Linked DNA regions of Homo sapiens: regions 1, 3 and 4 are each linked to region 2. The links are contacts of gene promoters, found by promoter capture Hi-C in blood cells and fetal thymus (Javierre and others, 2016). All regions are on one chromosome and are shown on one strand. The core of a region is centred on a gene start or on the middle of the fragment in contact, and the rest is flanking DNA. Distances in the headings are between cores, read along the strand shown.

Region 1 (5,500 bases), core at 2,169-4,668, 200 kb after region 2:
GTTTGGACTTTTTTTTTTTCTTTAAGCCAACCACAGAGAAAGTTAAGTTTGGGCCAGGCGCAGTGGCTCACACCCGTAATCCCAGCACTTTGGGAGGCCGAGGCGGGCGGATCACCTGAGGTCGGGAGTTCGAGATCAGCCTGACCAACATGGAGAAACCCCGTCTCTACTAAAAATACAAAAAAAAAAAAATTAGCAGGGCCTGGTGGTGCATGCCTGTAATCCCAGCTACTCGGGAAGCTCAGGCAGGAAAATCGCTTGAATCTGGGAGGCGGAGGTTGCAGTGAGCAGAGATTGTGCCATTGACTCCAGCCTGGGTAACGACAGTGAAATACCATCTCAAAAAAAAAAAAAAAAAAGAAAGTTAAGTTTGGACTTTATAATAAATGGAAAGACAGAAGTTTTTCAGAGGAGTAACATTAATGAAAACTGTCTTTCATAATTATTAATCTGGCAGCAATGTGCAGGTTGGAATGGAAGAAGGTGGAATAATGGTAAGAATGTATAAAGATTAGTTAGAAGACTGAAATAGCACAGTTCAGAATTAAGGTGAGCCTTAATAGGAAAGGAAAATAAACACATGAGATGCTGAAGCTGCCGATGACAGGACTTGTTAAGAGAGCCTCAAAGACAATGAAAGTATTGAGCTTTTACAATGTATAAGAATTGTGACTGCTATACATAAAGATGAGAAACATCATAAGAGAGAACAAGTTTTTGAATTTTATTTTTGAGCTCGGAGAATATATTTAAATTTATTTATTTAGTTTGCTCTGTTGCACAGGCTGGAGTGCAGTGGTGTGATCTTGCCTCACTGTAGTCTTGACCTCCTGGGCTCAAGAGATCTTCCTGCCTCAGCCTCCCAAGTAGCTAGGACTACAGGTATGTGCCATCACGCTGAGCTAATCTCTTGTTTTTTGTAGAGATAGTGCCTCACTCTGTTGCCCAGGCTGTATTCACAGTTTAAGGTGTTTAAGGATATTTTTTGCATACAGGTTCAGAAGGAAGCTAGAAATTGAGTCTAGAATTCAAGAAAGAGAGGCTAAAGATGCCCTCACCTGAAATGATTATAAGCTACCTTTAGGGCAAAATCTGTGTCTTAAATATTTTTATTTATTTTCTGATACTAAGCACAGTATCTGGCATGCAGTATATGCTCAAAAAATGCTTGAGGAATTTAAATTTGGGAATCAGTCACATAATTATTAAGGCACACGAAAGCACTAGGGGAGAGAATATAGAAAAGAACAGATGATAAAATCTAAATCCCCACAAGGGATCAGTTAGAGAAAGAGAGGCCAACAGAGAAGCTGGATTGAGCAGCCAGGAGAAAACAACTGGGTCAAGATAGTGCATTATCACAGAGATTAAGGGAGATGAACATTTCAGGAAGAAAAGAACAGTCATCAGTGTCAAATGCTGAAAGAGGTCAAAATGGCTAAGGACTGAGAAGAACAAAATTTGATGACTATGCAGAATTATGTGATCTTTGAGAAAGGAGTTTCAGGAGAGTAACTCTAAAAAGTTGGGATTATGAAAGACCAAACTGAAAGGATAGACGGTTTTCAAACTGAGATAAATTCATCTATTAAAAAACACAAAATTACAGTCTGGGTTATCTTGAGCAGCTCTTGATTGTATTATGGATGACTATAGTAAAGGAACTTTAATTTGCTCTAATTTATTTATTTATTTATTTTATTATTATTTTTTTTGAGATGGAGTCTCGCTCTGCCACCCAGGCTGGAGTGCAGTGGCGCAATCTTGGCTCACTGCAACCTGCACATCCTGGGTTCAAACTATTCTCCTGCCTCAGCCTCCCGAGTAGCTGGAGTACAGGCGCCCGTCACCACGCCCAGCTAATTTTAAAATTTTTAGTAGAGATGGGGTTTCACCATGTTGGCCAGGCTGGTCTCAAACTCCTGACCTCAGGTGATCCGCCCGGCTTGGCCTCCCAAAGTGCTGGGATTACAGGCGTGAGCCAATTTACTCTAATTTAATATCTCAAGTTGCTAATACAAGTCTTCAATATCGTGGTACCAACATTCTCTACTGTAGGAGAGCATTTAGATAAAATTAAATTTTCTTTTGGAAAAGTATTTAAAATACTTTACCTGTTTCCATCTCAGTGAGGCAGTTATCGATCTTCTTAAGTATTTTATCCATCTCATCTATCTTTATTTGAAGTTTCTCCCTCTCATTCTAAATACAAAAGATTATAGACTGTCAAGTTAAACCTCTAAAGAAAATATTATAAATGGTTCAAACTGCTCACATAATCGCTCTATCATGATCACAAACAGGCAAATCTTTTTTTTTTTTTTTTTTTTTTGAGGCGGAGTCTCATTCTGTTACCCAGGCTGGAGTGCAGTGGCGCCATCTGGGCTCATTGCAAGCTCCGCCTCCCGGGTTCATGCCATTCTCCTGCCTCAGCCTCCTGATTAGCTGGGACTACAGGTGCCTGCCACCATGCCTGGCTAATTTTTTGTATTTTTAGTAGAGATGGGGTTTCACCGTGTTAGCCAGGATGGTCTCGATCTCCCGACCTCGTGATCCGCCCGCCTTGGCCTCCCAAAGTGCTGGGATTACAGGCGTGAGCCACCGCACCCAGCCTACAAACAGGCAAATCTTAAAATGAAGGTCAAAGCTTTAGGTTGGAACTTAAAAAATAAAAGTAAATTTTATTAAAATAAGTTTTAGCCAAAAGAACTCTGGAAAATAAAATGTTTATTTTATAAATTTAATAAAATATTTTATTAAAAGAAAATGAAATAATTTAAAAAGCATATTGACATAAAACTAATTCTGGTACTTTATTTTAGCATTTCTATAGGTGTTCCATGGAATACAATATATTAATATTTATTACTTAAAAACATTTCTATGATAAACTAAACATAGGAAACAGTGGTCAAAAAGAATTACAGCATTTATGCTTAGACTTTAAAAAATTATGTTTCTCTGAAAGGGCATATTGCTTGCAACATTTCCCATACTTACTTGCCAATGGAAAGTTTTTTTATGCAGAGCCTTTTAAAAAAGCTAATCATTTTGGGAAATGCTACTTTAAACACATGTGCATACATATACAGCTTAGTATGGACTATGAAGAAGATAATACTATGGTATAGTCCTTAGCAATGGGAGACCAGAATCCTATGTATTTTATTTCAGTATGTATGATGGATAATAGTATTTGAGATGAGACATAGGCCCACATTAGTAATTATATTCCAGTATTACTCAAGATGTCAGGATTTGCCACTTTTGACAAATTGAACCTTACCTCTTAATTGTTAAGTTTTTGCCCAAGTCTTATTCACATGTCTTCTAAGGAAGATTCTTCATATTCTATAACCATTAGAAAGTAATTTTAATATCTCTCTCTTTCTATGATATTAACTGTCTCAAATTACCTGAGCTGACTGCACCAGCTTGCCATACAGAGCCACTTTTCCTTGGTGAGTGAAGACTTTAGTCATCTTGGTAAAACATGACTTTATTTTGTTAAGATAAATTCCAAAGGCCTTCAGCTGGAAGGGAAAGTTATAGAGAACACTGTACTAAAACAAACGAGTCAGAAGAGGTAAATGGTCTAGGAAGGCTAGGCTTTGCCTATCCTAAGGCAGGATATTTGTCATTTGCAAATTTAATTCCATGTAATTGTCTAAGACCAGAAAAAAGATTTCAGTTTTGATTCCTGCCTTTAATTCACTTATTCATATTATAAATTAGAAAATGACAGGCTCTTAGTTAATGAAACTTTTTAATATATTAGGGCACATATAAAATGGGTTGCTTGCTATTTAATCAATTAAAGTAAATCTTTTCTTCGTCTAAATCTAAGTGAAAGGCAAATAGCAAGGAGGGAACTCTAAATAAACTTCAACTATATTTCATATATTAAATTGATCATCTCAGGTTTGAAAAGATTATATATTAACAATTGTGTGTAATTAAATAAGACCTTGGTACCACATTACACTTAAAAAATAAGTTAAATAACTCATCACTATGACCAAGTAACAGTTACTCATTTCACAATAAACATCGTTCAGAATGTCTTCACTGATTCTCATTCAGAAAATGAGACAAAAGTACCTCTTTGTCAGAGCAGTGTCTCATTTTTTCCCACAGGTTCTTATTTATATCAACCAACAGCTTATCTTGGTTCGATGCAGAAAGCTTTAATCTAAAATACGGAAAAGTTAATTAGCACTGTAGGGAAAAGAAAGAGATCAGACTGTTACTGTGTCTATGTAGAAAGGAAAGACGTAAGAGACTCCATTTGGAAAAAGACCTGTACTTTGAACAACTGTTTTGCTGAGATGTTGTTAATTTGTAGCTTTGCCCCAACCACTTTGCCCCAGCCACTTTGACCCAACCTGAAGCTCACAAAAACATGTGTTGTATGAAATCAAAGTTTAAGGGATCTAGGGCTGTGCAGGACGTGCCTTGTTGACAAAATGTTTACAAGCAGTATACTTGGTAAAAGTCATCGCTATTCTCTAGTCTCAATAAACCAGGGGCACAATGCACTGCGGAAAGCCGCAGGGACCTCTGCCCTTGAAAGCGGGGTATTGTCCAAGGTTTCTCCCCATGTGATAGTCTGAAATATGGCCTCGTGGGATGAGAAAGACCTGACTGTCCCCCAGCCCGACACCCGTAAATGGTCTGTGCTGAGGTGGATTAGTAAAAGACGAAAGCCTCTTGCAGTTGAGATAGAGGAAGGCCACTGTCTCCTGCCTGCCCATGGGAACTGAATGTCTTTGTATAAAACTCGATTGTACATTTGTTCGATTCTGAGATAGGAGAAAAACCGCCCTATGGTGGGAGGCGAGACATGTTTGCAGCAATGCTGCCTTGTTATTCTTTACTCCACTGAGATGTTTGAGTGGAGAGAAACATAAATCTGGCTTAGGTGTACATCCAGTCACCATACCTTCTCTTAAACTTAACTATGACGTAGATTCTATTGCTTACATGTTTTTGTCCTTATTATCACCCTGCTCTCCTACTACATTCCTTCTTGCTGAAATAATGAAGATAATAATCAATAAAAACTGAGGGAACTCAGAGACCGGTGCCAGTGCAGGTCCTTGGTATGCTGAGAGCCGGTCCCCTGGGCCCACTGTTGTTTCTCTATACTTTGTCTCTGTGTCTTATTTCTTTTCTCAGTCTCTCGTCCCATCCGACTAGAAATACCCACAAGTGTGGAGGGGCAGGCCACCTCTTCAAGCGTAGGGTTCAGAAGCCAGCTTGAATGAACCAGCTCAGGTCTACAATCATGTTTAATTTAACTCTTCCTAGTTTTTTTCTACATAATAAGAGGGGAATTCATTCAAGAAAAGCCTGATTATTCACTTGAAGAATAGTAGTTCAAGAATGTCATACATCAAAAAAACTTCTATCACTAACAGAATTCTCATCTCAACGTACCAACTTGTTCCAATGTGAAACATTTCGCTTATAAAGAATCCTAAGGTCTGTCAATGATCGC
Region 2 (5,502 bases), core at 137-2,636:
CTTTGGGAGGCCAAGGTGGGTGGATCACCTGAGTTCAGAAGTTCAAGACCAGCCTGGCCAACATAGTGAAACCCCGTCTGTACCAAAAAAAAAAAAAAAAAAAAAAAAAAAAAAATTAGCCGGGTCTGGTAGCGGGTGCCTGTAGTTCCAGCTACTCCGGAGGCTGAGACAGAAGAATCACTTGAACGTGGAAGACGGAGGTTGCAGTGAGCAACCAGAGATTGCGCCATTGCACTCCAGCCTGGGCGACAAGAGCGAGACTCCGTCGCAAAAAAAAAGAAAGAAAAAGAAAAAAAAAAGTGAACTCTCCTTAACTCCTCTCTGATGTTCGTCTCCCCTAGGACCCCATAACCAGTCCCTTTTTTGAGTCTCTCCAAACCCATCCATCTTGGCACCCTCCTCACCTCCAAAGCCCTGGGTCCGCAGCTGGCGGTAGGAGCGGTACACTTCCCTCGTGAGGTAGTTGATGAAGCCCTCCCTGGGCGCGAACTTGCACACGAAGTTCTGCTCGTAGAGGCAGTTGATGAGGAAGCAGGCGGCGATGGCGTCCTCCCCGCGGTCGGGCTGCAGCTCCACTAGCGCCAAGTTGCAGTTCTGGGTGGTGCAGCAGGCGCGCACGCAGTCCCAGCCCCGGCGCACGGTGGGGGACTCCAGGAAGGTAGCTCCGTTGCTGACCGAGGCGTTGGTGTCCAGCACGAAGCCAGGCACCCCGGCGGTAAAGCTGTTCAGGCAGTCGGCTCCCGCGGGCAGCCCAGGGGGCGCGGGCGGTGGCCCGGCCTGGGTGCCCTGGAGGCCGAGCGTGCACAGAAGCCACAAGGCGACGGCAGGGATGCCGGCCGGGGCGAGGCGGGCGCGGGCCATCGTCCTCGCAGGGGCCATCGCCTTCCTCCCCAGGGGGGTCACCTTCAGAGCGCGGGCCTCTGGGTTCCGAGGGTGCTGGTGACCTGAGAAGAAGGGAGGGGACAGAGGAGGAGACACACCTGATCAGCCCGGGAGACTTTGGAGGAGGCGGGCCGGCCGGGAGGAAGTGGCGGGGAGGAGGGACCGGAGCACCCCAGGATCGAAGAGGGCGCACGGGCCCGGCCCTCCCACGCGCCCTCCAGGGACCCGGCAGCCAGACAGACGGACAGGCGGACCGCTAGGGAGCTCAAGTACCCGGACACACGCACGAGCGCAGAACAAAGGGCCGGACATGCTCCAGCCCGCTCCGCCTGCGCCTCGGCCTTGCGCGCGGGGGCCCGGGTTACCTGCGCAGGTGAGTTGGGTGGGGCCGGGTCCGCCGAGGTTCCGGTCCCAGCTTCCTGCGCGGCTCGGGTCGCGGCTTCCGACCCGGTGCTCGGAGAGCTGGGGCTCGGCCGCCTTCTCCCCCTGGTTTCTGGTGAAACTGAGTCAGCGCCGTCGGGGCGGGGCCGACATTCACCCTTGCGCTGCCGGCCCCGCCCACGCCCGGTGCGCTGCGGCCGCCTCTAGCGCGGAGCTCCAGGCCCGGCCCGCCCCGCGGCCCCGCAGCCCCGGTGCCTCCCCGGCAGCCAGCTCCCCGGAGGGGCTCTCGGGCTCCACCCAGTCCAGCCTCGCGAGGGAGCCCCGCGCCCGAAGCGCATACCCAGCCGGGAGGGGATGCGGCCGGGACGCGAGGGTCCGGCCTCTGGGGCGGCGGCCTCCAGTCTTCCTTTCCGGCCGGGGCCTGCTTTCCCAGCCCCAGACCTGAGGCCCGATGCAAATGATCTTTCCGGCCCTCAGGAAATCATTTCCATTTCGTGGCGGGAAGGTAACCCAAAAGTTGCGTGGCTGCACCTGTGATAACAGGGATCCGGGATGTCTGCCTCACTGTCAGCTCCGGGAAGCCCTCCCTGCTGTCAGGGTGAGAAACGGAGGCGATTCCCCGCGTCCAGGCTCCCCTGCGTGCTCCACGGGGCTTCCCTGTTGTTCGAGGCCCCTCCTCATCTTGTATGTACAGTTCGGTCCATTCCCTGCTATGGCTCATTGGACTGTTGCCCCCTTCCCTGGAGCCCAGGCTTCCTCTCTTTCACAAAGGGGACGCTGCTGGCTACTTTCTTCCAGGGAAATGTCATCCTTGGAAGCCTGGAGGTTCCAGTTCACCAAGTAGCTGAGTTAATGCCCTTCACGAAACAGTGGACTCCTTGAAGCCAAGCTCATTGCTCCTCCTGAGTAAAAAACTCTTAAGAGACCATTCTCTACGGCAAGGGTCTGAACAGGTGAAAGACAGATGAAGGCAGGGCTGGAGGAAGGAATCACATAGCATGCTCTCTTAAAATACAGATTCCAAACCTTTTCCTGATGGCTTAACAACCCCCAAACCAATGGGAACATTCTTCCCAGTTTCTCATCCAGAGCAGCTTTGCCTAGCAGATCCTGTGGCCAACCCTTGGATTTTGCTGAACTGCAACATCCTCCAGCTGCTCACATGATGCGTGTTGGGGTGGGAATCTGGGGCCTGTCTCCCCTTCTCTGGATGTTTAGGGTTTATCCACAGACCCTGGCACACTGGTGGATATACAACAATGGTGGTATGCTGGGAATGAAGAAAATGATTGTGCAGTCACTGGGAAGAAAGGGTTTTGTTGTGATTTGATTTCCCCTTATGGCTAACACATTCAAGAATCTTTATTTATTTATTTATTTATTTTTTTTTTTTTTTTTTTGAGACGGAGTCTTGCTCTGTCACCCAGGCTGGAGTGCAATGGCACGATCTCGGCTCACTGCAACCTCTGCCTTCCAGATTCAGGAAATTCTGCCTCAGCCTCCCAAGTAGCTGGGCTTACAGGTGGGCACCACCACGCCGAGCTAATTTTTGTATTTTTAGTAGAAACGAGGTTTCACCTTTTTGGCCAGGCTGGTCTTGAACTCCTGACCTCAGGTGATCCACCCACCTCGGCCTCCCAAAGTGCTAGGATTATAGGCGTGAGCCACTGTGCCTGACCTCAAGAATCTTAATACAGGAAAATATTACCTTATGGTAATATTACATCACCATAAATTTATCATTACATCCATTATACACACCATTATAAAAACCAACATGAATTCAGCACTGACAATGCCCAAACTCTGTTCCTAAGCACTGCCCACATATTACCCTATACTCAAAACAAACCTAGGGAGGTAGTATTTTTAGCCCCATTTTACAAATGAGCAAACAGGCTCAGACAGGTAAACTGACTTGTCAGGTCATTCAGCATTGAAGCGGCAGAGTAGGGATTGGAGCCCAGGCAGGCCAATTCCATGGCTTCAGTGCTTAAACCCTGGGCTTTATGGCCTTTGCAATTCTGACTTCATCTGGAAGTTCTGCCCTCACCTCAGATTCAACTTGCTTAAACCCATAACTCACTTTCAAGTGGTGAGCACCCACCATTTGTTGAGATGCCCACTGTGTTCCCTCCAGGCACTTGACATAGGATTGCTAATGCTCAGGACAACTCTAAAAATTGCTTCCACTTTGCAGAAAGGTTCACTGACTCCATCAAGGTCAGGTAGTGAACGAAGAGTGGTGACAGGTTGTAGAGAAGTTGAACTTGTGAGCTTCAGACTCAGACTACTGGATTTAGCTCTTGCATCTGCCACTTACTATTCGTGTGGCCTTGTGCAAGTTATTTGATCTCTCTGCCTTAGTCTCCTTGAATGGGAAGTGGGGCTTCATAAGGTTTTTTATGAGGATTAATTGAGTTAATGCAGACAAAGCATTTGACACAAAGAGTTCTCAATAAATGTTACTTGAAACGACAACAACAACAACAACAAAAACACATGGTGGTGAGGATGCAGAGAAAAGGGAACGCTTATACATTGTTGGTGGGAATGTAAATCAGTTCAGCCACTGTGGAAAGCAGCTTGGAGATTTCTCAAAAACTTAGAACTACCATTCAACTCAGCAATCCTATTACTGGGTATATACCCAAAGGAAAATATATTGTTTTTCCAAAAAGACACATGCACTTGTACGTTCATCACAGCACTATTCACAATAGCAAAGACATGGAATCAACCTAGATGCCCATCAATGATGGATTGCATAAAGATAATGTACTTCATACGTACCATGGAATACTATGCAGCCATAAAATTAACAAAATCATGTCCTTTCCAGCAATACGAATGCAGCTGGAGGCCATTATCCTAAGCAAATTAAGGCAGGAACAGAAAACCAAATACCACATATTCTCACTTATAAATGGGAGCTAAGCATTGAGTACACATGGACATAATGATGGAACAATAGACACTGAGGACTACCAGAAGAGAGAAGGAGGGAGGGGAGCGTGGGGAGCGTGGGCTGAAAAACAACCTTTTAGGTAATATGCTCACTACCTGGGTGACAGGCTCATCTGTACCCCAAACCCTATACCCATGTAACAAACCTGCATGTGTACCCACTGAATCTAAAATAAAAGTTGAGGCCAGGTGCAATGGCTCATGTCTGTAATCCAAGCACTATGGGAGGCTGAGGCAGGAGGATTGCTTGAGCCCAGGAGTTCAAGACCAGCCTGGGCAACATGGCAAGACCCCGTCTCTATAAAAAAAAATACAAAAAATTAGCCAGGCATAGTGGCGCATGCCTGTAGTACCAGCTACTCAGGAGGTTGAGGTGGGGGGATTGCTTGAGCCAGGGAGGTCAAGGTGGCAGTGAGCTATGATCATGCCACTGCACTCCAGCATGGGTGAAAGAACTAGACCCTGTCTCAAAAATAAGTAAACAAAATAAAAGTCGAAATGATTCTTTTAAAAAAGTGACAGAGCCAGGATTGTATCTGAAGTCTTTTTGACATTAAAAGCCATACTTTCCATACTACCTTATGCTGCTTCTTACATACTAATAAGAAAAACTACATGTGAAGAGAAGAAAGACTATAAGGTATGCCATCAAAGTAGGGAAAGTGATGGTATTTGAATGGTGAGACTGTAGGATAACATTTCTTCTTTCTAGTTTTAAAAATATTTTCCAAGATCCCTTCAGTGAACATGGGATGCTTCCATAATGAAGAGAGAGACACACCGTGATGACCTCCACATACCATATTTGATGACAGTCTTCCTTGGTAATCACTCACATCCATCTCTTGTCTGTTCCCACTGCTGCCCTTAATCTAGGCTCTGTGCCAGCTTCCTGATGGAACTCCAGGCCACCCTGCACACTGCCATGTGGTTCCCTCCTCCAGCCCTGCCTTCATCTGTCCCTCACCTGTTCAGACCCTCAGTCATCCCCAAGAACTTCTCTGGCAGAGTGTACAGAGCCAACTGTTCCCTGGACCGACTCATGAAGTTCAGTATTTGCTTAGGCAGAGAGTGTCAGAGCTGTCAGAGGAGAGTCAGCTAAAACCCTTCCCCTGGCTGGGCACCGTGGCTTACGCTTGTAGTCCCAACACTTTGGGAGGCCAAGGCAAGAGGATTGCTTGAGGTCAGGAGTTCGAGACCAGCCTGGGCAACATAGTGTCTGAAAAAATAAATTTTAAAAAACAACCCAGCCAGGCACGGTGGCTCACGCCT
Region 3 (5,835 bases), core at 1-2,500, 220 kb after region 2:
GTATTTCTATTAGTTATTTGTTTATCAAGAACTCCACCACAGTAGACTATATTATGGCTTGTTGCTATCTCCTGATTACAATCAGCTGACTGAGGAGAATCTTTATCAAGGTAGGGCAAAATCTTCAAAACCCAATCTTTGTCTTTGTTCCAGGTGTCGGTTAAGCTGTTTTTGGCTATTATGTCTGATCGCTGAAATGGTTCATTACGACTTTTGGTAATTTCTTCACATTCATCTGAAGAGCTTTTGCTCTGAGAGTGAGATTCACTGGTACTCTCCGGTGCTAGATTATAAGCTGCAAGAGGAACCTGACTTCCTAAGTTACTTGTGTGACTTTCAGTCAAATCCATATTTTCACCTGATAAGAGTTCAGTCTTTCTATCAGTCAATGAAATAGACAAAGGATTTGACAGGCTCTGCTGTATTCTTTCCTTAGATACATGAGGAACTGAGTTACAATTTACATTCATTTTCCCATCTTCTGATGTGGTCATAAGATTTTGGAGCATCATTTCTTTTTCGGGTGTTGGTGCAGCTGCTATTTGCACATTTGATTGATCTTGTTTAAAAATTTGATTATCTATTGCAACTGTATGACTCTTGGTAATGTCCATGTTCTCCTCTCCGGAATAAATAGTTTTCTCTGTGAGAGAAGACATAGCATCTGGATTGCAATACATTTTAGCATAATTACTGTCATGCTTTAGCAAATTTTTCTCCTCTCTCATATTTGAGAGACATTTGGTCATTTCCATGGCATCATTACAACTAGAATAGAAAACAGTCTTACAACCTTGAATAGATGGATTAGAATATATAGATTCTGGGGTCATGGCTAATATTCTGGCATCCTGATTACAAGTCTGTGAGACTATGTGAGTTTCTGCCCCCATAATATGACTTCTGGTAATATGTATTTTGTCTGCAGAGTTTATGGAAAGGTCTTGAAAAGCAGTATTTTGTTTACTCTTAAAAACTGTTTTATTTCCTGAAGCTTTAGTTCCATAACCTGTTGTTACATCCATGGCATTCTGAGTTTGATTTTCTATTTCAGAAAAATTACCTGTTGCAGGTAAGATCTGCAAAGTGTGGTTAAATGTCAAGTCCATAAAGTCATTGCCATAAATTGTAATATCATTACCTTTAGATTCCCGTGAGTTGGTCTCACTGGATGTGGGAATCAATGTCTGAATATTGGCTGTATGACACTGGGTGAAATTCATCCCATCATCTTTTTCTCTAAAGAGCCTAGTAATATTACTGTTATTTTCATCTTCCTTAAGAGATACATGCATTTGATGTGTAGAAGAGGCACTGTTCGGTTCCTTGGAATAAATAGGTATCTCAAAATTTTCTTTATCAGGCACATCAGGAAAAGCACTACATTTTCCTGTTTTCAATCTTTTTATGAAGTCATTGAAATCTATTTTATTTTCTGAAGAAGTGTTTTGATCCACGGAAAAATTTACTTCTTTTTTCATTCTTGAGTCCTCGGTGTGAAGCTTTAAATTAGCTAGAAATGATGTGGTATCTATCTTGGTGGACTTTTCACTTATGGGATTATCTAAAAGGCCTTTGGTAATCATTACAGTGTGACTTGATGTCAGGTCCATCTGGTTTTCATCTGAAAAAATGACTGTCTGGTCATTTGCATGTTTCCTTTCACGGGTATGTTCTATAATTGAAAACTATAATGAAAGCAAAATATAAGAGATCAGAACAAAAGCAAACTTTTAAAAAGGCATTTTACAACATGTATTATATAAAAAATCCTCAGTGATGGTTTCATAACACGTTGGTTTGCTTGAATCAATGGTGTAGCATGTTGCATATAATTTGTCATTAAAAATTATTCTTGGGAAGCCGAGGTGGGTGGATCACGAGGGCAGGAGATCGAGACCATCCTGGCTAACATGGTGAAACCCCGTCTCTACTAAAAAATACAAAAAAGAAAATAAGCCAGGCATGGTGGCGGGCACCTGTAGTCCCAGCTACTCGGGAGGCTGAGGCAGGAGAATGGTGTGAACCTGGGAGGCGGAGCTTGCAGCGAGCTGAGATTGCACCACTGCCTGGGCAACAGAGCAAGACTCTGTCTCAAAAAAAAAAAAAAATTATTCTAGGCTAGGCACAGTGGCTCACGCCTGTAATCCAAGCACTTTGGAAGGCTGAGGCAGGGGGATTGCCTGAAGCCAGGAGTAACAAAGTAAGATCCTGTCTCTACAAAAAATTATAAAAATTAGGCACAGTGGTGCATGCCTGTTGTCCTAGCTACTAGGAAGGCTGAGGTGGGAGGACTGCTCGAGTCCAGGAGTTTGAGCTGTCATAGGCTAGGATCACACCATTGCACTCCAACTTCGGCAACAGAGTAATACCCAATCTATTAGGAAAAGAAAAAGAAATCTAAAGTCTGCGAGTAATTTACTTTTTAGTGTTTTGGGACAAATTAAAAATTCAAGGTTAATTATACACCCACTAGAATGACTAAAAAATTAAAAACACTGACAGCACCAAATGTAAACATGACAAAAATTCTAATTACTATATTGAATAGGTCATTCTTATCCTAAATTTTAAAAGTCTAGGAAAGACATAAGCCCATGATGGCTAATCTATATTACATTCTAGACTGGGCTTGGTGGCTCACACTTGTAATCCCAGCACTTTGAGAAGCCAAGGCAGAAAGATCCCTTGAGCCCAGGAGTTCAAGACCAGCCTGGGCAACAGAGTGAGACCTTGTCTCTACAAAAAAATGAACAAAATTAGCTAGGCATGGTGGCATGCACCTGTAGTCCCAGCCACTCAGGAGGCTGAGGTGGGAGGATCGCTTCAGCCCAGAAGATTGAGGCTGCAATGAGCCAAGATTGTGCCACTGCACTCCAGCCTGGGCAACAGTGTAAGACTGTGTCTAACAACAACCAAAAAAAATCCTTCTTGTAGGAGATAGCCTAAAATATATATATATATATATATATTACACTGTGTGCTACAACAGTTTTCTCAGTGAGGACACAGATTAACTCTTTGCTACTGAAAGTATGGCCTATGGACTTGTGTACTAGTATCACTAAGGAAATAGAAATAAAGACTCATGTGCTCTTTAAACTTTGAGAGGTACTGGTATACTGTATCTCCCATTACTTAAACTGGCTGTGACTTAACTATCCTTAAGTTAACTGGAAAGGTAGGAAGCCTTTCCAGTTTATGCTGATTCATTTTTTTAAGTCATCCCTAAACTATGCCATTATCATTGAATTGTGTTTTCTGTTTTAACAATCAAATGACATTACAATATGAAGGTATTTGCATGAACTCATACCTCCTTCTGTTGCATCTGGGTATGAATGGGAGCAGAAAGCAATGTGTTCATCCCTATTTAGAAAAAAGAAAAAACTGTAGTCAGAAAATATAACACTGAGCCTGATTTTCCTTTTCTTAGGTTCTTCATCAGTTACAAGTATTTACTAGAATTTACCAGTAACTAAGCCCTTAAGAACTTACGTATTAAATTTTTTTAATTTTTTAAAAATTGATACATCATTGTTGTACATATTTTTGTGTTACATGTGATATTTTGATACTTGTATACATTGTGTAATGATCAAATCAGGGTAACTGGAATATCCACCACCTCAAACATTTATCTTTTGTGTTGGGAACATATAAAATTTCATAAGACTTAATTATCCTATGTTAGTGACAGAGAGACCAATAATTATTGTATCCTCTGTGTGGCTGAAATATTTTTATAATGTGGTGGTGATTTTAAAGATGGAAAGTTTGGACTACTACTTATTATTATTATTATTATTCACTTCTCTATTTTTATTTCCTGGATAGTAGAAGTCCCATGGAGAAGAGTATCAAATGATGAGACTGAAAGGTTAGGGTAGGATTCTGAAGGGTCTTTTATTCTATGTTAAGGAATCTAGATATTCCCATGATAAGACACATGTGCTTTATAAAAATAATCCCATTATAAAATATAATGCATTTTAGAAAAATAGTAAAAAGTAATAAGGAGAAGTTGATTCAAGAGAAGATAAACCAATAAGGAAGTTACTACAATAGTTCAGATTAACGCAAGAGGTCATGTTAGGGCAACAGAGCAATGAAAATGGAAATAAAGGATTAGACTCAAGACTTATTTTAGAACTACAAATCAGACTTTGTAAATAAGGAAGGGATTCAAAAGGCTATATTAAAACAGGAAATACATTTAAAAATACTTACATTTAAAGTTTAAAGGCAAATCTTTAGAACACATTAAAGAATGTATGACGAGCTTGAGTACATATAATGAAATAATTATAAGCTTTTTTTTTTTTTTTTTTTTTTTTTTTTTTTTTTTTTTTACTAAAAGCCTTATTTATATTTCAGGCTTCCATTCATTTTTTCAACAAATGTTGGTTCAGAACCTATTACATGAAAAAACAAAACAAACAAACGAACACACCTCAAATGTCTACTAAGGTATAAAGAAGAACAAGACAAAATTTCTGAATTTCTGGACTCTCAGAGATGGTAGTTCAGGCTATTCTGAGCACACTGCCTATGGGGTAGCTGTGCTCCTCAAGGAGGAGTATCTCCCACCGCCTGCAAAAAAAGTTTGGCCTCTTTAATAAGACAGCCAGAAATACTTAAAGTACAATGTGATAAATTCTAAAATATACTGAAAAATAAAAGAGGTGTTATGGGAGCACAGAACATCTGACTAACTCCTTAGTTTTGCCAGAGAGGGTTCCATTTAAGCCAGTGCTACTTGAAGTATGGTGCCAGACTGTGAACTGCTTGTTACCTATTCATAACGAGATAAGGAGCTGGCGGCAAACATAAATCATATAATAATAATTGCTAGGAAAAAAGTGTAAACTAAACTAAACTGTGGCTTAATGCCACAGTTAAGGCACATTATGGTACAAATTCCTTTTCTGTCATGGACTGAGCAGTTAGTTTGTGGACTGGACACTTTGGATAGCACTGAAGTTAAACTAAGTGAAGTGAAAAATGAGAAGCCTGATAGGCAAACTGGAGTAGAAAGATCACTTTAGATAGAGAAAATAGCATTTATAAATGCATATAGGGGCTGAGTGCGGAGGCTCACGCCTGTAATCCAAGCACTCTGGAGGCCAAGGCGGTGGATCATCTGAGGTCAGGAGTTTGAGACCAGCCTGGCCAACATGGTGAAACCCCATCTCTACTAAAAATACAAAAATCAGCTCGGCCTGGTGGCACGTGCCTGTAATCCCAGCTACTCGGGAGGCTGAGGCAGGAAAATCGCTTGAACCTGGGAGGCGGAGGTTGCAGTGAGCCAAGATCGCACCACCTCACTTCAGCCTGGGTGACAGAGTGAGACTCCGTCTCAAAAAAATAAAATGAAATAAAATGAAAAATAAATGCATATAGGCAGAAAAAGAGTTTATATAGTGAACTGCAAATAATTCATCATGGGCTAGAGCATGGGATACCTATATAATGGGTAGGAGATAAGTTTGGAGAAGAAAACAGGCCAAGTGATAAAGGACATTCTAACTCATTGCTAAGGAGTATGGGCTTTATTCTGTAAGCAAAACAGTGTCATTGAACCATTTTAAGCTGGGAGGTAACATAATCAAATTTAGAAATATGGAGAATGGATTGGAAGGATAAGAAATGAAATACAGTAGCCCAAGAAAAAATAATAACAACTTGAATTAAAGCAGTCACAGAAGGAATACAGAATAGGTAACGATTTTCAAGACATTTAGGAGACAAAACAGAAAGTAGGCCAAATGGCCATTAGACATAAAGGAAGAATTGAAAATGACTTCTTGATTCCTGACTTCAGTGAATGACTGA
Region 4 (5,732 bases), core at 2,908-5,407, 140 kb after region 2:
AGACTGAGGCAGGAGAACTGCTCAAACCTGGGAGTCAGTGGTTGCAATGAGCCGAGATTGTGCCACTGCATTCTAGCCTGGGCAACAGAGCAAGACTCTGTCTTTAAAAAACAAACAAACAAACCAACAACAACAAAAAAAAACATACGAAATTTCTATGCACCTAGCCTTCTGCAGTGTTAACCTCTTGCATAATGATAGTATAGCACTGATATTAGAAAACTGACATTGGGGGCCAGGCATGATGGCTCACGCCTGTAAGCCCAGCACTTTGGGAGGCTGAGGCGGGTAGATCATCTGAGGTCAGGAGTTCGAGACCAACCTAGCCAACGTGGTGAAACCTCATCTCTACTAAAAATACAAAAATTAGCTGGGCATGGTGGCACTTGCCTGTAGTCCCAGCTACTTGGGAGGCTGAGGCAGGAGAATCACTTGAACCCAGGAGGCGGAGGTTGCAGTGAGCTGAGATTATGCCACTGCACTCCAGCCTGGGTAACAGAGTGAGACTCTGTCTCAAAAAAAAGGGAAAGAAAACTGACATTGGGCCAGGCAAGGTGGCTCAAGCCTATAATCCCAGCACTTTGGGAGGCTGAGGCAGGAGGATGGCTTGAGCTCAGGATTTTGAGACCAGCCTGGGCAACATAATGAGTGATGCCCCGACTCAAAAAAAAAAAAAAAAAAAAAAAAAATTAGCCAGGTGGTAAATGATCATAGTCCTAGCTTGGGGAGACTGAGGCTAGAAGATCACTTGAGCCCAGGAAGCAGAGGTTGCAGTGAGCTGAGACCATGCCACTGCACTCCAGCCTGGGTGACAGAGTGAGACCCTGTCTCGAAAAATAAATAATAAGGTCAAAAGCTTTATAGTTTTCCCTGAAGTCCTGAAGATTAGTGTGTACACAATGAGTAGTATTCAAACATGGAATGTTTTAACCAGTCATCAGGTTTTCAACCCTGTGGTAGAGTAGGTTATAATTACAGTTACCTCCTTAAGCAAAAGGAGCTTACTCTCTTAACACAATATTAAATGGAGACTAAATTATTTAATTTGCAGATAAGTTTAGTATTTTATAAATAAGGTCCTACCTTGCAGCAGTCTTACCTCTTCAATGTGGATACTTCCTTTATCTCTCTTTGTTTTTGAGACAGAGTTTTGCTCGTCACCCAGGCTGGAGTGCAGTGGCACAATCTTGGCTCACAGCAACCTCCGTCTTCCGGGTTCAAGTGATTCTCCTGCCTCTGCCTCCCGAGTAGGCATGTGCACCTACAGGGATTACAGGCATGTGCCACCATGCCCAACTAATTTTGTATTTTTAATAGGTTTCTCCATGTTGGCTGGGCTGGTCTCGAACTCCCAGCCTCAGGTGATCTGCCCACCTCAGCCTCCCAAAGTGCTGAGATTACAGGCATAAGCCACTGCACCTGGCCTTCCTCTATCTCTTTATCATTATCTAACAAGGAAATGCTACACAAATATTTCAGTTTTGTTTTATAACCTGGAAGCTTTCCTAACTAGAGTTCACAACACAGGATAAAGGATTACTACACCTTGAAGTAGTTTGTCAAGCTCTTTGGAGCCAGTAGTAATCTGTATGATCTCTGACCGCCTTTGGTGGAATTCAGTTGCAGTGGTGAAACCCATTGGAACTAATTTAGCTGCCTCAGCCTGGGAAAAATAAGAAATATTAAATCAACAAAATAATATTCCTTACCACAGTGATCTTGATGGCAAAAAAATATATATAAAGAAAAAAGAAATATTAGTAAAACAAGGTGTGCAATGGGAAGAGAAAATATCAAATAAAATTACCAGGATGATTTCTCTTTAGAAAGTCATAAAAAAGGATAATCTAATTCAGAGATTCCATGAAGATCAATTTTTAAATTGCCAATTCAAGTTAATATATTAATATAGTTTTAAAAACTATTATAGATCCGGCCGGGTGCGATGGCTCACGCCTGTAATCCCAGCACTTTGGAAGGCCAAGGCAGGCGGATCACAACGTCAGGAGATCGAGACCATCCTGGCTAACATGGTGAAACCCCATCTCTACTAAAAAAATACAAAAAATTAGTCGGGCGTGGTGGCGGGTGCCTGAAGTCCCAGCTACTTGGTAGGCTGAGGCAGGAGAAAGGCGTGAACCCGGGAGGCGGAGCTTGCAGTGAGCCGAGATCGCGCCACTGTACTCCAGCCTGGGGGACAGAGCGAGACTCTGTCTCAAAAAACAAAACAAAACAAAACAAAAAACTATTAGAGATCCGTACATATGTGTTTTGCCCAATTTATGACAAAAATGACAATACAGTACACCTTCATTTCCTGCTCCATCAACCGCAGACTGTATCCCTTAACTTCCTACTTTGTAAAAATGAGGACATTTGCCCTTCAATCTTTTCTCTCTCCATGGCTACTTCCCCACCTCTATCAGCTGTACCTTTTCTTTCATATTGTCTGGCTGAGAACATTCACATTCTATTTTGTAATTACAGATAAGTGTTCTGTAATAGCACTATGGGTTGATTCTAAAATTGAAAAGTAAGTGCATTCACAAATATGCAAAAATAAAGCAACACACTCCTAAATAAGCAACAAGTCAAAGAAGAAATGACAAGGGAAATCAGAAAATGTTTTTGCAATGAATGAAAACGAAGATATACCAAAACGTATGGGCTCCAAGAAAAGCAGTGCTTAGAGAGAAATTCATAGCTATAAACAGCTATATTAGAAAAGAAGGCTGGGTGTGGTGAATCACACCTGTAATCCCAGCACTTTGGGAGGCTGAGGTGGGAGGACTGCTGGAAGCCAGGAGTTTGAGACCAGCCTGAGTAACAAAGCAGCACCCTGGCTCTAAAAATGTTTTAAAATTAGCAGGGTGGCTGGGTGTGGTGGCTCACCTCTGTAATCTCAGAACTTTGGGAGGCTGAGGTGGGCAGATCACAAGGTCAGGAGTTCAAGACCAGCCTGACCAACATGGTGAAACTTCCTCTCTACTAAAAATACAAAAATTAGCCGGGCGTGGTGGCACGCGCCTGTAGTCCCAGCTACTCGGGAGGCTGAGGTGGAAGAATCACTTGAATCTGGGAGGCGGAGGTTGCAGTGAGCTGAATTTGCACCACTGCACTCCAGCCTGAGAGACACAGCGAGATTCCATCTCAAAAAAAAAAAAAAAAATTAGTAGGGCATGGCTGGGCATGGTGGCTCATGCCTGAATCCCAGCACTTTGGTAGGGTGAGGTGGGCAGATCACGAAGTCAGGAGTTCAAGACCAGCCTGCCCAATATGGTGAAACCCCATTTCTACTAAAAATACAAAAAATAGCTGGGCGTGGTGGCGTGCGCCTGTAGTCCCAACTACTCAGGAGGCTGAAACAGGAGAACTGCTTGAACCCGGGCGGCGGAGGTTGCAGTGAGCCGAGATCACACCACCGCACTCCAGCCTGGGCAAGAGAGTGAGACTGCATCAGAAAAAAAAAAAAAAAAGGCCTGGCGCGGTGGCTCACGACTGTAATCCCAGCACTTTGGGAGGCTGAGGCAGGCAGATCATGAGGTCAGGAGATCAAGACCATCCTGGCTAACACGGTGAAACCCTGTCTCTACTAAAAATTAGCTGGGCATGGCGGCACGTGCCTGTAATCCCAGCCACTCAGGAGGCTGAGGCAGGAGAATCGCTTGAACCCAAGAGGCAGAGGTTGCAGTGAGCAGAGATCACGCCACTGCACTCCAGCCTGGGCACAGAGGGAGACTCCGTCTCAAAAATAAAATAAAATAAAATAAATAGCAGGGCATGGTGGGGCGTGCCTGTGGTCCTAGTTACCTGGGAGGCTGAGGCAGAAGGTTTGTTTGAGCCAGGAGTTGGAGGCTGCAGTGAGCTATGATCACACCACTGCACTCCAACGTAAGTGACAGAACAAGACTCTGCCTCTAAAAATAAAAAAGATAAATCATAACCTAACCTTCCAAAGAAAAGCAAACAAAACAAAGCAAGCAGAAAGATGGAAATAATACAGGTTAGGGTAGAAACTATTAAGTAGAGGGCAGAATAATAGAGAAAAATCAATGAAACCAAAAGCTGGTTCTTTGAAAATATCAACAAAATTGACAAACTTTTAGCTGCATTGCCCGAGAAAAAAAGAGAAAAGACTCAAATTACTAAAATCAAGAATGAAAGAGGGGACATTACTACTGACTTTATGTAAATAAAAAGTAGTATAAGGAAACCCTGTGAGCATCTCTATGTCAACAAGTTAGGTAACTTAGATGAAATAAGCAAATTCTTAGAAAGATAAACTACCAAAACTCACTCAAGAAGAAAATCTAAATAGACCCATAGAAAGTAAAAAGATTAAACTTTCATAATGTTTAAATTTCCCATGAAGAAAAAAAATCAACAAATAGCTGAAAAATCAATGAAAGTTTATTCTCTAAACTTTTCTATATACTTAATATTTCATTTAAAAATTCATTGCACGGCCAGGTGCAGTGGCTCACGCCTGTAATCCCAGCACTTTGGGATACTGAGATGGGCGGATTACCTGAGGCCAGGATTTTGAGACCAGCCTGGCCAATTCATATACTCACTGTCATTTCAGTGCAACAAACATGTACTAGACACTTACTTCGTATGAAACATAGTCCCAGGGACTCTGAAGGATATGGAGAAAAAGAAGAGCTGATTCCTGCCTCCACAGAGCTTATAACTTAATCAGAAAGATAAACTATACAAAATAACTATAGTACAAGTAGATGTGATGGGTAATATGAGAAGTACTAACAAGCCATGGGAGCTCAAGGAATATAGACTACTTCCTTTGGTGAAAAACAGGAGAATGTATTAGCAAAGACAAAACTGGTAGAAATGGTCAGGCTAGTGGCATGTGCCTATAGTCCCAGCTACTCAGCAGGCTGAGAATTCCTTGAGCCCAGGAGTTTGAAGCTGAAGCTGCAGTGAGCTTTGATCATGCCACTGCACTCCAGCCTGGGCAACAGAGTGAGACTTTTCTTTTTTTTCTTTAAAAAAAAAAAAAAAAGGTGGGCACAGTGGCTAGTGCCTGTAATTTCAGCACTTTGGGAGGCTGAGGTGGGCAGATTGCTTGAGGCCAGGAGTTTGAGACCAGCCTGGGCAACATGGTGAAACCCCGTCTCAACTGAAAATACAAAAATTAGCCACGTGTGGTGGTGGGAGCCTGTAATCCCAGCTACTTGGGAGGCTGAGGCACGACAATCACTTGAACCCGGAAGGCAGAGGTTGCAGTGAGCAGAGCCAAAATTGCACCATTGTGCTCCAGCCTGGGTGACACAGCGACACTCTGCCTCAAAAAAAAACAGAAAACAAACAATACAATCATAATCTTTACTGGCCAGAAACAAAGAACATAAAATATTGAAAAGTAAAGACACGTAAGTCTATACCATATTGCATCTCAAATCATGTATTCTAGGTTTGCATTGTTGTGTTCATAGAAACAGAGAAGTGACTTGATTTCTGAAACCAAGATCTCGCAAGGCAAAAAGAAAAGATCCTGTCAGCATTTGTTCATTCACAAAAACTGATACCCAAAAAGCGAAAACAGAAAGACTTTAGGGACCCCTACTGGCTTAGTCAATATGACAATCTTTTAACAAAAATACTGTTAGGGACTCAGAACCCTTATTTCCAATTAAGCAACCACTTCAGCAAATATTCATTTGAGTAATCCAATAAATTTATCTAACGCTAACAGTAATCGATACGTGAAA

What was found. Contacts are between HindIII fragments. The CHiCAGO score rates a contact against its expected background, and 5 or more counts as called.
Region 1: a contact is called between a fragment that was not itself captured here and the fragment with the promoter of SPINT1 in region 2, in 1 of 17 cell types (M1 macrophages). The highest score is 5.4, in M1 macrophages.
Region 3: a fragment that was not itself captured here is called in contact with the fragment with the promoter of SPINT1 in region 2 in 1 of 17 cell types (M1 macrophages); the score reaches 5.0 in M1 macrophages.
Region 4: a contact is called between a fragment that was not itself captured here and the fragment with the promoter of SPINT1 in region 2, in 3 of 17 cell types (M0 macrophages, M2 macrophages and endothelial precursors). The highest score is 5.6, in M0 macrophages.

Annotation. Positions count from the first base shown.
Region 1 is chr15:40,643,689-40,649,188 of GRCh38, reverse strand. It overlaps KNL1 (kinetochore scaffold 1), which reads right to left. Exons shown (of 26, transcript NM_144508.5): 15 at 4,102-4,192; 16 at 3,417-3,533; 17 at 2,115-2,202. Among named protein-coding and RNA genes, the nearest start is that of RAD51-AS1, 49 kb to the left of the region's middle. The HindIII fragment of the contact is 1,538 bases long and covers 2,650-4,187 here.
Region 2 is chr15:40,839,932-40,845,433 of GRCh38, reverse strand. SPINT1 (serine peptidase inhibitor, Kunitz type 1) reads right to left here and starts at 1,386. Exons shown (of 11, transcript NM_003710.4): 1 at 1,248-1,386; 2 at 405-944. The coding sequence starts at 879. SPINT1-AS1 (SPINT1 antisense RNA 1) reads left to right here and starts at 910. Exons shown (of 2, transcript NR_146468.1): 1 at 910-1,255. RefSeq lists silencers at 705-944, 1,235-1,294, 1,375-1,604, 1,766-1,948 and an enhancer at 1,242-1,813. The HindIII fragment of the contact is 21,246 bases long and covers 1-5,502 here.
Region 3 is chr15:40,616,493-40,622,327 of GRCh38, reverse strand. KNL1 (kinetochore scaffold 1) reads right to left here. Exons shown (of 26, transcript NM_144508.5): 9 at 3,317-3,369; 10 at 1-1,688. Among named protein-coding and RNA genes, the nearest start is that of KNL1, 25 kb to the right of the region's middle. The HindIII fragment of the contact is 508 bases long and covers 997-1,504 here.
Region 4 is chr15:40,702,108-40,707,839 of GRCh38, reverse strand. It overlaps RAD51 (RAD51 recombinase), which reads right to left. Exons shown (of 10, transcript NM_002875.5): 4 at 1,546-1,663. Among named protein-coding and RNA genes, the nearest start is that of RAD51, 9.8 kb to the right of the region's middle. The HindIII fragment of the contact is 5,309 bases long and covers 1,503-5,732 here.